Regions from separate parts of the Homo sapiens genome. Here all the other regions are linked to region 2. Evidence: promoter capture Hi-C in human tissues and cell types (Jung and others, 2019). All regions are on one chromosome and are shown on one strand. Each heading gives the region's core, a stretch centred on a gene start or on the middle of the fragment in contact. The rest is flanking DNA. Distances are from core to core; before and after follow the strand shown.

Region 1 (3,350 bases), core at 602-3,101, 180 kb before region 2:
CCAAGGCCAGAAACATTGGATGCCTCAAGATGTCTTGACATATCCTAGGCTGTGGCGGCCACCCCAAAATGGGAAGTTGTTTTAAGCCCCTCTGTGGATGGTGACTTGTCTCACAGCCCTGGGAAATCCGCACAACCTCTGCTTTCTCTCAGGTCGGTTCTCCGGCCACTCTTCCTATAATGCCGTTCACAAAGGTGACAACTCAGTCCTCGACTGTCAGCAAACAGTCCCGCTCCCACAGTCTGAGGCCACGTGTCTTTGGATGAGGGGATGTCTTCTCCATCCAGAGGAGTGACCAGGGGAGGAGACCATGATGGTGGAGCTGCTGGGTGACAGAATGGACAACTGGCCTGGGAAAGACCCCGCTTCCCATTTTGGGGTGGCCGCCACAGCCTAGGATATGTCAAGACATCTTGAGCCATCCAATGTTTCTGGCCTCGACCACGGGTGGGTCAGAGAAGCCACTAGCATTTGGTGGCCCTTGGGTAAGGAGAGGCCAGCTCCCCTACCACTGACATGTGCTGGGTTTTAGGCCAGGCTGGGCCCCAACAGGGCTCAGAACAGGAGGTGGGGGGTGGGGGCAGCTGCCCCAATTCAGGCACATCCTGCCACCTGACAGTCACAGGGCGGGGTGGCATCTTCCTACTGGCAATGCTGAGGTGCGGACACTGGGGCCTCACAGCAGGCTCCTCCACTGTATCAGGAGGAAGCGGATTCAGCTGGGAGTGAGGAGGTTTGCAGACCCTCAGGGGCTGGGTTTCCCACAGCTCTGTGCCCAGGTAGGTGGCACACGGAGACACCATCCTTGGCCTTGCAAAGCCTGGATTCATCTTGCATGTCACCCTTGGATCCCCAGGAAGATCCTGCCTGGGGGTGGGGTGTGGGGTTCAGTCTGTTGTGGGGCGGACCTCAGCTGCACTGGGACAACCATGTGGCTTCAGGGAGGGGCTCTTTCTTCTCTGCCTTCTTTTACTCATTTTGTTTTTAATTTTAATTTAAAAAAAACATAAAAAGCTTTAATGAACTATGGGAAGTGTTTCTTTTGTACCATAAAGAAGAGCTGGTAGAGTCCCTGGGGCGGGGGATGGGGTGGCCTCCACTTTATGGGAAAGTCCCAGGTTTATTGTGAGCATCAAAGCCAGGGAGGCTCCTCTGTTCCAGGGCCCATCTCCATCCAGATGCCCGTGGCCCATATAGCATTGTCATCGGGTCATCATTTAACTTGTACACTCACTTTGTCACCACCCCAACCTCAAGATGAGACCCCACTGTGCAGGAGTCTGCGCTGAGTGATAGCAGTCAGTGGTCCTGACAGAAGCAGCTTGAGAGACGGCTGGGTCGTGTGATGCTTTCAAATCCCATCTCCAAGAATGTTGCGTGTGCATTGAACATCTACTACATGAACCCTTGCACAGCCTTCCTGAGAAGTCTGATACCAGGATGCTTTCAGTGGCAAAAACCAGAAACTGCCATGCCCATCATCTTAAACCCTCAAGAAGTGTGTTACCTCCCTCCCCAGAGGCCTCAGGGCAGCCCCAAGCTGGTGAATGCAGCAGCCCGCGCGGCCTGGAGGAGCCGGGTGCTTTTCGCTTTTCCACTCCGCCACCCCAGACTGGCTCCCTCGTGGTTTCAGGATGGCTGTTTTGATTTCAGGGGGTGGAAAAAGAGGATCCTGGCCTTTTGGGGTCTTTGGATCAGTGAGGACACCTCTTCCAGGAGCTCCCATCAGACCTTTCCTCACCCCTCATTGGCCAGAACTGGGTCACATGCCCATCCCGAAACCGATCACCATCAATAGGACCCGGAGTACCACGACTGACTCACAGGAACCGGGACTGGCACCTGCGCTCCCAGGGGCTCATGGGCCTGAGAGCTGGACCTGGAGCTACATCAGGGGCCGTTAGGACACAGGAAGGCAACCAAGGGTGCCTGCTGCCATGACCTTGTTCCATCCTTGAGTAGCAAGCACATCTGTGAGTGTGTGTTGGGTCCACAGGCTCAATAGTAACATACAACGGGAGCAACCCCTGTGGTAGGCAGCAGCACTTCCGAATCCCCACTCCTCACCGGCCGTTCATCACCAGAAACGTGGCTGAGTCTTCCAGGGCAGGACGCTCTGCCCACCCAGGCCATTCTCTAGTGGACAGACCTGCCTTCTTTTAGTCTAGCCCTGGGATCTTAACTGGGGAGGATTTTGCCCCCCTGGGGCATCAGTAGCTGATGTCTGGGGACATTTTTGGTTTTCCTGACTGGGAGGGAAGATTGCTAGTGACATCTCGTGGGTGGAGTCCAGGGATGCTGCAGATGCCCCACAATGCACTGGCCGCCCCCACCGTGAGTTACCCAGCCCCGAAGGCTGATGGTGCCATGGCTGAGAAAACTGCTCTATCCCAGGGTTTTGCCATTACAAAGTCATGCTCACAAATGCGTGAACGCTGTTACTTATCGACATTACAGGAGATTTTCAAAAATCGTGTTAACAGAATGCAAATGTTAGCATCAGAACGTAAGATCCAGCTTTGCGGCAACTTCGCTGTCTCAGGGGCTCCCTGAAGAAATCCTGCACCGTCTCACTTCTCACATGGCCCGTGCAAAGCTGCTGTCTAGGTGGAAAGCTCTCCCCACCCCAACCCCGACCCCTTCCCCATTCCCTTCTAACCGCCCACACCTTTCAGGGCTTGGCTGAGAGGCCTCTTCCTTCAGGAAGGCGTCCCTGACCTCTAGACCTCAGTGGTCCTACTGCCACCCGTGTGTGCTCCCTGGTCACGTGTCTGCTGTTGAACAGCCACTTGTGCGTGCTCCCTGGTCACGTGTCTGCTGTTGAACAGCCGCGCCCGCCTCCCTGCGGCCTTGCTCCTGCCCTTCCTTCAAGGGAGCCTGTGCGCATGCTGGGCTGTCTTTGCAAGCTCCCACGCCACCTACCTGCCAACCAGGTGGCTTGAGAGGGCTGACGAGAGCTCACCCTGCTGCACCTCTCTCTATGATCAGACACACACCTGCTCCGCATTGAGACTCGAAAGCGCAGGCTCCAGAATTGTTTTTTTATAATGATTTATAAAAATAACATAAATCAAAAATTACTGCTGGGAAGCTGTCCGTTTCCACACACATCTGTACCTGTGGCTTTGTGCATACAAGGCTGACTCACAGGCTGCCACTGAAATCCTCTGGAATAAAATCAGGTTGGCATTTCTTCTATTCAGCACTGTACAGAATAAACCCAGGCAAGACAGGAATCAGGAGGCTTTTAGCTACAAAGGAACACACTTCTACCAGAGATGCTTTTAATAACTCTTTATCATTTTCATCACGAATCCAGAGGAGGGTGGCAGTGCCAGGTTGCTCGCTGA
Region 2 (3,545 bases), core at 20-2,519:
CGGCCCGGGACAGCTCACATGACCGAGCCCCGCGCTTTGAACGGCCCTTGCCTCCAGCCCCAGAGATGCGGCCGGCGGCGTAACATGGAGGGGACTTCGGAGGATCCCTCCTTCCCAGTAACCCCTACAGGCTCACCGAACCCAGCGCGCCCGACCTGGGGGCGCACACAGCTTGGGAGTCATAGGGCTGTGGGTGGGAGACCCTCGGGCAGGCACTGCGATTTCAGCCAGGAGCGGAAAGCTGGGCGGGCTGCATAGAAGAAGCGGCTCCCTCCCTCCCAGTCTCAAAGTGCCCCCGAAAGGAGACGCGTACCCTCGCCTGCCCTTACTCACCGAGGTTGACGAAGCTCATGACCATGTCGGCGTCGGTGAGGAAATGGCTATCTTGCAGGCTGGCCAGAGGGGGGCCCTGGGTACTGAAGACGGCCTTGTAGGGGTAGGAGAAGCCCTGGCCGCCGGGCCCGCCGCCCTCCTCCACCGCCATGGCGTTGTACAGGTCCAGCATGAACATGGGTGCCGAGTTGTGCTTGCCCTGGAGGTGCGGGCGCGGGCGGTGGGGCAAGCCCAAAATGGAGAGGATCTCGCGCTGCATCTCCCGCCGCTCCTGGCTGCGGAGGCGCCGGTGGATGAAGCTCGAGTGCACCTCGTTGTCCAGGCTGAAGTCGGCCAGGGCGGAGCGCAGCAGGAACAGGGGTGCCCAGAGCGCCACGAAGCTGTGCGGCGCCGCAGCTCGCAGTGAGCGCACGTGCATCGCGCCGGCTCTACGCGCTACCCGGGCTCCGGGCTCCGGGCCCGCACCGCCCCAGGTGGCAGAGGGGGCAGGCGGCCGTCCGCGCCGCTCGGTCACTTGCTGCAGACGGGCCCCGCTGCGCCCGCGCCAGACATGGCCCCTCCCCGGCCGGCCGCGCTCTGCCCGGACCCCCGCCCCCTGCTCGGTGCTGGCCCCGGGCCCCTCGCCCCGCACTCGCCCGGGCGCACCGCAGGGCTTGGAAAGCAGCCCCGGCGAACGAAAAGGCGAGTGAGGAGGCGGGCGCGGGTGGGAGGAGCAGCCAGCAAGCCTAGGAGTCCAGAGAGCCAACGCCGGGGAGGCAGCGAGGAGGCAGGCGGGCGGGCGAGCGCTCCTTCTTCCCGCTCCTCTGGCGCTCTCGCCCTCGGGCGGCGGCAACCCACCCTCTTCCAACCTCCGGCGCGGATAGCAGGGGCCCCGGGGCGCTCTCCCAGCCTTGTGCGCCCTGGATCGCACAAGAGGCCGCCTCGGGAGCGCCAGAGTGGTACGCGCTGGGGCCTGGGCGGAGGAGGAGGAGGAGGAGGACGGGCTTCGAGGGGCCCCTCCCGCGCCGGCGGCCTCCCACCTGCCCTCGGCCCCGCCCTCCCCCCAGCTGTGCCCAGTGGGTTCATTCATTCCCTCTAGAGCGCTCGACAAATGTTTACTGAGTGCCCACGGGGTGCCTAGAGCCTGGCGGGACGTCGCGGGGATGCGGCTGGAGGAATCGGAGCCGGCCCTGCCCTCTCGGCACTCGCGGTCCGGACCAGGAAGGCGGCCCGAGCAGGACGGGTGGGCTGCGGACCGCGGTGGGAAAAGTTGGGGGAGCGCGGAGGTGGCGCGGAAATAGAAGGCTTCCTGGAAGCGGTGACCCTTGAGCCGGTCTTGCCCCTCAGTCCCTGTATCCTTTTAAGCCAGCCACGCTGACCCCTCCGCGCCTCCCTGAAGCCGTTGCCAGCCTGTCTCTGCGCTCGCCATTCCCTCCGCCTGGACCTCTCCCCACTCACCACCTCCCGCCCCCATCAGACGCTGCTTTCTCCTCCCAGAGACCTCCAAGACCTGCCAAGCTGAGGTTGTTTCCTCGCCTCGCCCCTCGCACGTTTGTTTTCTTTCCTGTAGTTTCTCTTGCTGTCTGGAATTGCTGTTTGAGTTACTCCGTGCCTTCTTTATTGCCTTCTTACCCCCGCTAGACACCCAGAGCACTGGGGCCCGGATCAGCGATCTTCTCCGCACCTCTGGTACCCGCAGTGCCTTGAACCCAGCGCCTGGTAGCCACTGTAGCTGCGCAGTCACGATTTGTTGAGTGAATAAGTGAACTGCGTGTGAGCTGGGGGGGTTCTTCCCACCTCCTCCTCTTCGGGGCCCTGTATCTTTCCAGCCACCCCTCAGCCTGAGACCAGACACCCCAGCCCCACCACTAGGGCTTCCCATCAGCCCTCCTCGTGGCAGTGCCTGGGGAGCCAGCCGCTGGTCTTCACATCCTCTTCCCCTCCAAGGGTCTGTGCCTGAGACCTCCCCATCGGCCTCCTCTCCTGTCTCTCCTCATCCATTCATCCCTCAATCAATACCGAGCCATGCACGCTGTCACAGGGAGTCCCCAGACCACTCAGAACCCACCGGTCCCTCTGCCGGTGTGGGATCTCAAGGGAATTACTGCACCCAGAGTGGCAGTGAGGGCAGCGGGGTAAAAGTTCATCCTGTCTCCTTCCCCTCCTGGGGCTGGGTGAGAGAGTGGGTCCCCAGAGGGCCTTTGGGATGAACTGGGAAGGGCTGAGGTTGGGGAAGCGGGGGCGCTTGTCTGGGAGGGGCTCTGGCTAAGCCTCACTTTGGGGCTGTCCTTCCTGGAGCAGGAGAGCTGGGGAAGAGAATTATGGTCTTCTACAGTTTTCTGGAGCAGAAGTAGTTTGGCCAAGTGGCCCTCTGGGTCTCCCTTGGGGACTTTTGGACTAGATGGCAGCCTGAGGGGCCACATGGGTGGAGAAAGGGGAGGCCAGAGGCCAGGCAAGGAGCAGAAAAATGCCAGCCTGCAGGTCCTGGCCATTTACACACAGGCCCCAGGCTGTGGGATGGAACAGGTCTTGAGCCCCATGCCAGGGAGGGGCCTCTACCCACCCACCAGGCAAGGCCCTCAAACCACCCCCACCACCTGCTCTTCATCCATTCACTCCTTCCTTCAACAGACAAGCATGGAGCACAGGATATCAGGAGGCGAGCTGTGGGGCCTGCAACCTGGACAGTCGTACAGGGCCCCCCAGCTCTTAAGGGCCCCACACTTGGTTTCCTACTCTGAGGTCACCATATGTGGTTCTGAATCACCTATGAACAAAGTACCCCCTGCCCCGTACTAATTTTGCACCTGGCCCAGATATTATGTGGCCAGTCCCAGGGCCAAGCACCATGCTGGGCAGGAAGACATGGCCATGAGCGAACCCACATGGCAGACTCCATCAAGGAGCCGGCCTCCAGGCCAGGGAAGCAAAGCAAGAGCCTTAAATAAGATTCAGGGACTGAAGGAGAGGCAGATCTTGTCTATCACTCTCTCTGGAAACAATTCAGAAGCCAGGCAGAGGAGGACATGCAGGAGGGAGAAGGAAAGGTGGGCATCCTGGCAAGCAGGAATCCTACCCCAGGGAGACTGGGGAAATTGCAGGAGTGCCACAGTCGTCCAGGGTCCATCTGAGAGTGTACAACTGGAGAGCCTGGGTCACTTCAGCCTGCAATAAGTGACAGGCAGTGGGGGCGGGGGCGCAGATAAACAGGGTGAGGTGATGGAGGGTGGGAA
Region 3 (3,541 bases), core at 958-3,457, 210 kb before region 2:
ACTTGGCTAACTGTTTACCACAAGAGGCTTAGCGTTTGACCTGTCTCAGCTTTTGACATGCCTTTCTCACTAAGCTTAATCATTTCTAGCTCTTGATTTAAATTGAGAAAACTTTGGGAGGCTGAGGTATGAGAATTGCTTGAGCCCGGGAGTTCAAGACCAGCCTGGGCAACCTAGTGAGATTTCATCTCTACTAAAAAAAAGATTTTTTTAAAAAATTAGCCGGGCATGGTGGTGCTTGCCTGTAGCCCCAGCTACTCAGGAGGCTGAGGTGGGAGGATCATTTGAGGCCAGGAGTTCCAGGCTGCAGTAAGCCATAATTGCACCACTGCACTCCAGCCTGGACCACAGAGAGAGACCCTGTTTCAAAAAATACATAAATAAATAATAAAGTGAGAGACATGCGACTCTTCCTTTCACTTGAACACTTGGAGGCCAATGTAGGTTTCTTAATTGGCCCAATTTAACATTGTTGCATCTCAGGGAATAGGGAGGCATGAGGAGAGGGAGGAGATGGGGGAATGGCCAGTGGAGCAGTTAGGGCACACACATTTATCAATTAAGTTCACTGTCTTATACGGGCACAGTTCGTGGTGCCCCAAAACACTGCAATAGTAACATCAAAGATCACTGACCACAGATCACGATAACAAATATAATAATAATGAAATGATTAGCTCTATTGTGAGAACTGCCAAAATGCAACACAGAGACACCAGGTGAGCACCTGCTGTTGGAAAAATGGCACCATGAACCTTGCTGGAGGCAGAGTTGCCACAAAACCTTCAATCTGTAAAAAATGCAATAAAGCAAATTGCAATAAAGAAGGTATGCCTGTATAAATGTAATGCTGGGAGACACAAACTCTTTTTCAGAATATTAGAAAGGAACCATCTCAGGACAGAGGCAATGGGGAAGTGGGTGGGGTGCGGGTGAGCAGGGCTGTGAAGTCTTGAGATTTGCCTCTGCGGTTGCTGACAGAGAACGAGTTATTATTATTATTATTATTATTATTATTATTATTATTTGAGACAGAGTCTCACTCTGTCGCTCAGGCTGAAGTGTAGTGACACAAAGTCAGCTCACTGCAATCTCCACCTCCCAGGTTCAAGCAACTTCACCGTGGAGACAGTTTTCTTATTAAATTGCTTGTACTCTCTTAGAAGGATTACTCATTTGATCAGCGGGAGGAACCACTCCCAAAATACCTTTTGAGTCATTTGGGGTTTCTATTGCCTTTTGCATAAACTTTGAATTATTCTTTTTGTTGAAAAGGTTACTATTAGGAAACACGTTCACAGGCAGTCTGTAAATGTCATCATATTTCAGCTGGGGACAGAGCTACACGAGGGTTTGGAGGAGGCGGCTCAGGGAGAAGGCAGCACCTCAGCCTGTTCTCTCAATGCACTGGCTGCAAGGAGCAGCTGCAACCCAGAGCCCACTGGGCCCAGACACCTAGCTGCCACATTTCCAGGGGTGGGCCTGCTCATGACGCAGGCAAGACAGGAAAACCGGGACAAGCTCCTGACCAGGCAGAGGTCAGGGACAGCTGCTCAGGTGCCACCAAGCATGAGGCAGGGCACCACCCAAGGCTTCCTGCCCAAACCTGTGGCATGCCCTGTTGGTGCTTTGCTGAAACTGTCCTTCTCTAAGAAGGCAATGAAGACAGTTGTCCCAGGCCCCAAAAAGAAGCACTCACTCCCTTTCCCATGAGACCACCAGTTTCGGATAGAGATTCTGTTTGGCTGGCGTTCTCAACTCATTAGAATTGGAATTAAAGAGCAGGGATGGGAAGTGACATTACAAACTCCGATGCCCAGGCCCCATCCCCGACTAACTGAATCAGAAATGCTGGGAGGCGAGCTCAGGACATTATGTTTTTAAAACGCACCAGGTGAGGCTGACACGCAGCCAGGGCTCAGAACCATGGATTTCAGCCAAAAAGGCTTTAGCCCAAGAAGACCGTGCAAATACAAAATGCCAAAGGGAGGGTCATCAGGTGAGTTTCATAGAATTCTGATTCTCCTCCTAATAAAGTACGTCCCTGGTAGCTGAGAGATGGGAGAGCAGCTCCACATGTGGGACCTGCCAGGGGGATTCGGCATTCCTGCGGCCCCCTCTGCTGGCCATGATGCTCTCAGATTCTTTGCTGAAAGGGAACGGACATAGGAGCCATCCCACTAAACTCTTCAAAGGACGCTTCTCAGATGCCGGAGTCCACAGAGTAGGGCAACATACAAAGCAAGCACCCAAAACACTGGGGGTGAGAGTCTCAAACCTTGTACTCTGTAATTACATCCAGCATCACCATCACTTCTCAAAAGAGAAGACACTTTCCCAGCAAAAATAGAAAAGGAAAGCAGTTGCAGAATAGTTAAGACTGAGCCCTGAGACATCAGTTTAGCCTTGAGAAAAAAACTACTTCCATTGTCCACATTTTTCTTAGCTGGATTCCTACCAATGAACCCCTGCTGGGACTTGAGTTTGGGGGGCACTGAGTGAAGTAAGAACTTTTAGTTAAGAAATTATTCTTTGGCCGTGGTTGTAATATCGTAGTCAGGGATGGCTTCACGGGCATGTGTCCAGGGCCCCACACTTAGAAGCATCCTGCCCTGGGTTTAATGCTCTCTTGAAATTCTTCATAATTTTTGGACAAGGAACTCCGCCTTTTCATTCTGTACTGGGCCCTGCAAATTCTGTACCCAACCCTGATTTTCACTGGTGGATTTATGTAAACGTGTGTCTTTCAGTTAGTCAATAAATATGTCTTGGACACTTATCGGTGCCGGTTTCCGAGGACACACCATGTGCAGTATCGCTGAGGGCAGGATCCAGAGTGTGCCTGCCTCAGAAAGCTTTGCTTCTGGAGGGGCCACAGGGAAAATGTTCACCAATAGGAAAGCCTATAAATAAGATCATTGAAAAGATTGGGAATCTGACAAGGATATCTATGTGAAACAGGAGAGTTCCCTGAACCCCCTTGCAGGATGTGCAACAAGGGTACGGCTCATGTGTGTGCTCAAACCCCTTACAGGAGGGAGAGCACGCAGACAGGCAGGTGCAGGAGATAGGGTGAGCACCCCTGGGCTCCAGCCCCACAACAGCATCCAGGAGGTGGGATCCTGTGACTCCCGAAGCCCAAGTAGGCGTGTGTTACAGTGTGCTCTTTTAGCCTTGCCATCCATGGAGGGCTTAAGTGTTAACCAGCTCAGTCTTGGTACACAGGTCCTTGTCCAGCATTCAGGAAGAATCAGGTCACACATGGACTTGAAGGATGGTGAATGCAGGGATTTTATTTGGTGCTGGAGGTGGCTCTCAGCAGGACAGATGGGGACCTGGAAAGGGAATGGCGTGGGAAGATGATCTTTCCCTGGAGTTTGGCTGTCCCTGGGCCGATCTCTCTGACTGTCCCCAGCAGACGTTCAGACGCTCCTTCTCTTCTCTCCTCCTCCACCACTCCATTCTTCTGCTCATCTGCTCGTGGAACCTGGGTTTGGGGTTTATATGGGTACAGGATAGGGGGCCATGGCAGGCCAAAAGG
Region 4 (3,352 bases), core at 416-2,915, 160 kb before region 2:
AGATTTGCCGAGGCCACATTCTCTTTTCCCACTGGCCTGCCTACTGGCCACATTTAAGATGATGGCTGCTCTATCTGTCTGGGTCTCTGAGTGATCATGGTAGCACTGTCTCTCTGCCAACCTGCAAGAGGCATGTGATGTGTGTGAGATACACCTCAGTCATGTGATGTGTGTGAGAGGTACACCTCAGTCATGTGATTTGTGTGAGATACACCTCAGTTTTTAAACCATAGAGATGTTAGGCTCGATTGTCACCTCGGCATAATCTAACCCATCCTGGCTGATACAGTCACATGACTAAGAGCCCAGAGCTAAGATTTATACCCGAGTCTGGGGCCCAGGCCTCAGGCCCTAACCACCCGGCTTCGATGGAGAGTGTGGGGCTTTCGGGGCCATCGCTGGGGCTCCTGAGGCCTGGCATTGGTGAGCAGCTCTGAGTGTCTGCTCATGGCCATGAAGGTAGGCGTGGCAGGTGGAATGCCAGGGTGACCCTTGTCAGAGCCCACCCCTTGCCTCATAATCCCCCCTATCTCCAGTGTGGAAGGGCCTGTGGATGCCATGGGCTAGCGCTCCAGGAGCAAGCTCTGCTGTGGCACCATGACTGTGTGAGTTGAAGGGACCCTGACCTAACAACCAGGTGAGCCCGGGAATGGGACGAGGCCCCTTCTGGAAAAGGAGATTCAAAGCCTAAAAGAGATTTGATGTGAGGGAGATTCTCGGTTGCTGGCTTCAAAAATGGAAGGGGCCACGGAGCCAGGAATGAGGTGGCCACCAGGAGCTGAGAGTGACCTTGACGGCCAGTAAGACCCAAGCTCTACCCCCCAGGGATGGCATTCTGCCCGATCGCATGAGCTTGGAAGACCACCCAGAGCCCCAGAGGAGCACGCAGGCTGCCAACACCTTGACTTCAGCCTGGCGAGACCTGGGGCAGGGAACCTAGTCGCACTGTGTGAAACCCCTGACCTCCAGAGCTGATGGGTAGCAAAAGGAGGTTTTAAGTCACAAAGTTTATGGCGATTTGTTACACAGCACTGAAAATGAATACAAAAGTGTGTCTGTTGAGCGTGGGGAGAACCTCTTGGAAGACCCAGCTCCTCCTTTGTCCTTGGGTCCCATTTTCCAGAAACCCCCTCGCTCAGCACACCTGGAGATCCTCCCCCAGCCCCCTGCCTCTATTCCTGGCGGCTGCTCTAATTCCTCTATTATTCCCTTAAATACCTGCTCCACTAATGCGCCTTGTGACAGAGAGGTCTACTTGCAAGGGGTGAAAAAAAAATGAACTTAAGCTCTCAAATGCAGGCTCCTAGTCAGAGCTGAAAACACTGGGCCGAGTGGGCACAAAGAATGCCAGCTCTTGCCAACGTTGTTGAATGAGGTTTTTTAGTCTCGAACAAAGCTCTCCCTTTGAGGATTAACTGCCAACAGGGAGCTCTTTGTTTTGAGTAGAATTTAAGATTATTGCTGGGATAGAAACGGGGAGAAAGGTGACACCATCAAGATCGCACCGTGCAAATCCAGGATTATAGAAAACATCATTTTTTAAAAACTTGTTGGCAAATATGGACACAGATTGTGCTGACACTCCAAAACGTCCACTTGATTTGTGACCAAGTCCTCGGTCTCATGTTTCCAAGGCAGGTGATGCCTTCAAAGATATACATGGATAGCCATGCACAGTGGCTCACACCTGTAATCCCAGCAATTTGGGAGGCCAAGACAGTTGGATCACCTGAGGTCAGGAGCTCAAGACCAGCCTGACCAATATGGTGAAACCCCATCTCTACTAAAATACACACACACACACACACACACACACACGCACAAATTAGCCGGGTGTGGTGGTGTGCCCCTGTAATCCTAGCTACTCATGAGGCTGAGACGGGAGAATCGCTTGAACCCACGAGGCGGAGGTTGCAGTGAACCGAGATTGCGCCACTGCCCTCCAGCCTGGGTGACAGAGCGAGGCACCATATAAAAAAAAAAATATATATATATATATATATGCATCCAGTATGTAGATCCTGGCACACAGAAAGGCCTATTCTCACTTGTTAGCTTTTTGTGTTGTTAGAAAAAAGGAAAACAAATCCTCAAGATACAGCCCGTGTGTTATTCCCGAGGTAGAAAACCCTGGCAGTAGGCGGAAGTGTGGGTGACTACAAGGCAGGGCTGAACGCGTCCTTCCAGAAGTCTAAGTCCTGGCCTGGTGTCCATGATCGCTGACAACATGCCCCCCGCACCTTCCGTCCCCGAGCAGAGCTTGCTGGGGGGAAGACCCTGCCTTGTTGCTCCCATTCCAACAGGTCTGCTACTCTGTCTCTCTCTCTGAGTAAACTCCAGGTCCCATTCTTGGGCCACGGTCCTCACCACCTGGCTTTCCTGCTGTGTCTCCATCTCGCCTACCCGCTCCCTCCACCCCAGCCGTGCCTGGAACACACTGGGCATGTTCTTGCCCCAGTACCTTGGCACAGTCATTCCTTTCACCCGGGATTCTGCTCCTCCAAATATCCACCTGGCTGACTCCATTTCTTCCAACTCATGCTCAAGAATCAAGAATGTCGTCTCCTCAGAGGGCTCCCTGCCGCCCTCATCTCTTCTCTGTGTACAGCTACATCTCACAGGCTTAATTCTCGATTCTCTTCTCCTCTTGGGAGTGGAGGCTCCACACTTTGATTCACATTCATCCTGGTCTCCTCGGAGCATTCAGGCCAGTGGAGAGATTATGACAACACGGGGTGCACCTGGCCACGGTCCCTGCCCTCCTGGGACTCCCACTTGGGGACAAGTCCTGGACACTAGGCTGGGAGAGAGGGTGGGAGGATCAGCAGGGGGGACGTGGGGCTGGCCTGATCCCCCTCCTCCAGCCTGCACTTGCCAAGAGGCCCCAGGCCGGGTTCCAAGCAGCCCCGTGGCTGAGCTCCTTCCTGGTAATGATTTTAGGGCCACTCAACTTGTCAGCTCTGCCTTTCGAAGCTCCTAGGCATGGGCTCTGAGCCGCGGTCACTCCTCGGTGATCTCAGCTCAGGGAAGGGAGTCACGACACACTTAATTCAAAACAGCTGAAAACCAACAGTGGGAAGAGGACTCTGGTGACAATGGCTGGTGCTAAGGACTTGACTCGGTCTGCAGCCAGGCCAAGCGCTTGACACCTGCTCTCTCTTCTTCTCTAAAGGGATTTTTTATCTTAATGAGTTTTCACTGTATGTGAAGCTTTTCTCCTTTGACTTGCAACATAAGCCTAACCACTAATGGAAAGAGAAGACACTCTTTAATTTTTTTTATGAAACTGAGCATCATTGACTGAGGTAGAATGTATGTATAGTCAAGGTGCAGTTCTGTGAGTTTTGACAAA

Evidence for each region. The method cuts DNA at HindIII sites, captures the fragments that hold promoters and counts their contacts. A contact is called where the count stands out against the background at its distance.
Region 1: a contact is called between a fragment that was not itself captured here and the fragment with the promoter of BMP7 in region 2, in 2 of the 25 tissues and cell types used here (dorsolateral prefrontal cortex and thymus).
Region 3: a contact is called between a fragment that was not itself captured here and the fragment with the promoter of BMP7 in region 2, in 5 of the 25 tissues and cell types used here (H1 embryonic stem cells, IMR-90 fibroblasts, bladder and 2 more).
Region 4: a fragment that was not itself captured here is called in contact with the fragment with the promoter of BMP7 in region 2 in 4 of the 25 tissues and cell types used here (dorsolateral prefrontal cortex, hippocampus, mesendoderm cells and 1 more).

The regions. Positions count from the first base shown.
Region 1 is chr20:57,084,443-57,087,792 of GRCh38, forward strand. No RefSeq gene overlaps it. Among named protein-coding and RNA genes, the nearest start is that of BMP7-AS1, 130 kb to the right of the region's middle. The HindIII fragment of the contact is 8,766 bases long and covers 1-3,350 here.
Region 2 is chr20:57,265,372-57,268,916 of GRCh38, forward strand. It overlaps BMP7 (bone morphogenetic protein 7), which reads right to left and starts at 1,270. Exons shown (of 7, transcript NM_001719.3): 1 at 334-1,270. The coding sequence starts at 751. It overlaps LOC112268270 (translation initiation factor IF-2-like), which reads left to right and starts at 1,069. Exons shown (of 2, transcript NR_171651.1): 1 at 1,069-1,271; 2 at 1,412-1,916. RefSeq lists a promoter at 758-3,545 and a cis regulatory region at 1,377-1,469. The HindIII fragment of the contact is 13,311 bases long and covers 1-3,545 here.
Region 3 is chr20:57,059,373-57,062,913 of GRCh38, forward strand. No RefSeq gene overlaps it. Among named protein-coding and RNA genes, the nearest start is that of BMP7-AS1, 150 kb to the right of the region's middle. The HindIII fragment of the contact is 4,827 bases long and covers 1-3,541 here.
Region 4 is chr20:57,101,961-57,105,312 of GRCh38, forward strand. No RefSeq gene overlaps it. Among named protein-coding and RNA genes, the nearest start is that of BMP7-AS1, 110 kb to the right of the region's middle. The HindIII fragment of the contact is 6,948 bases long and covers 1-3,352 here.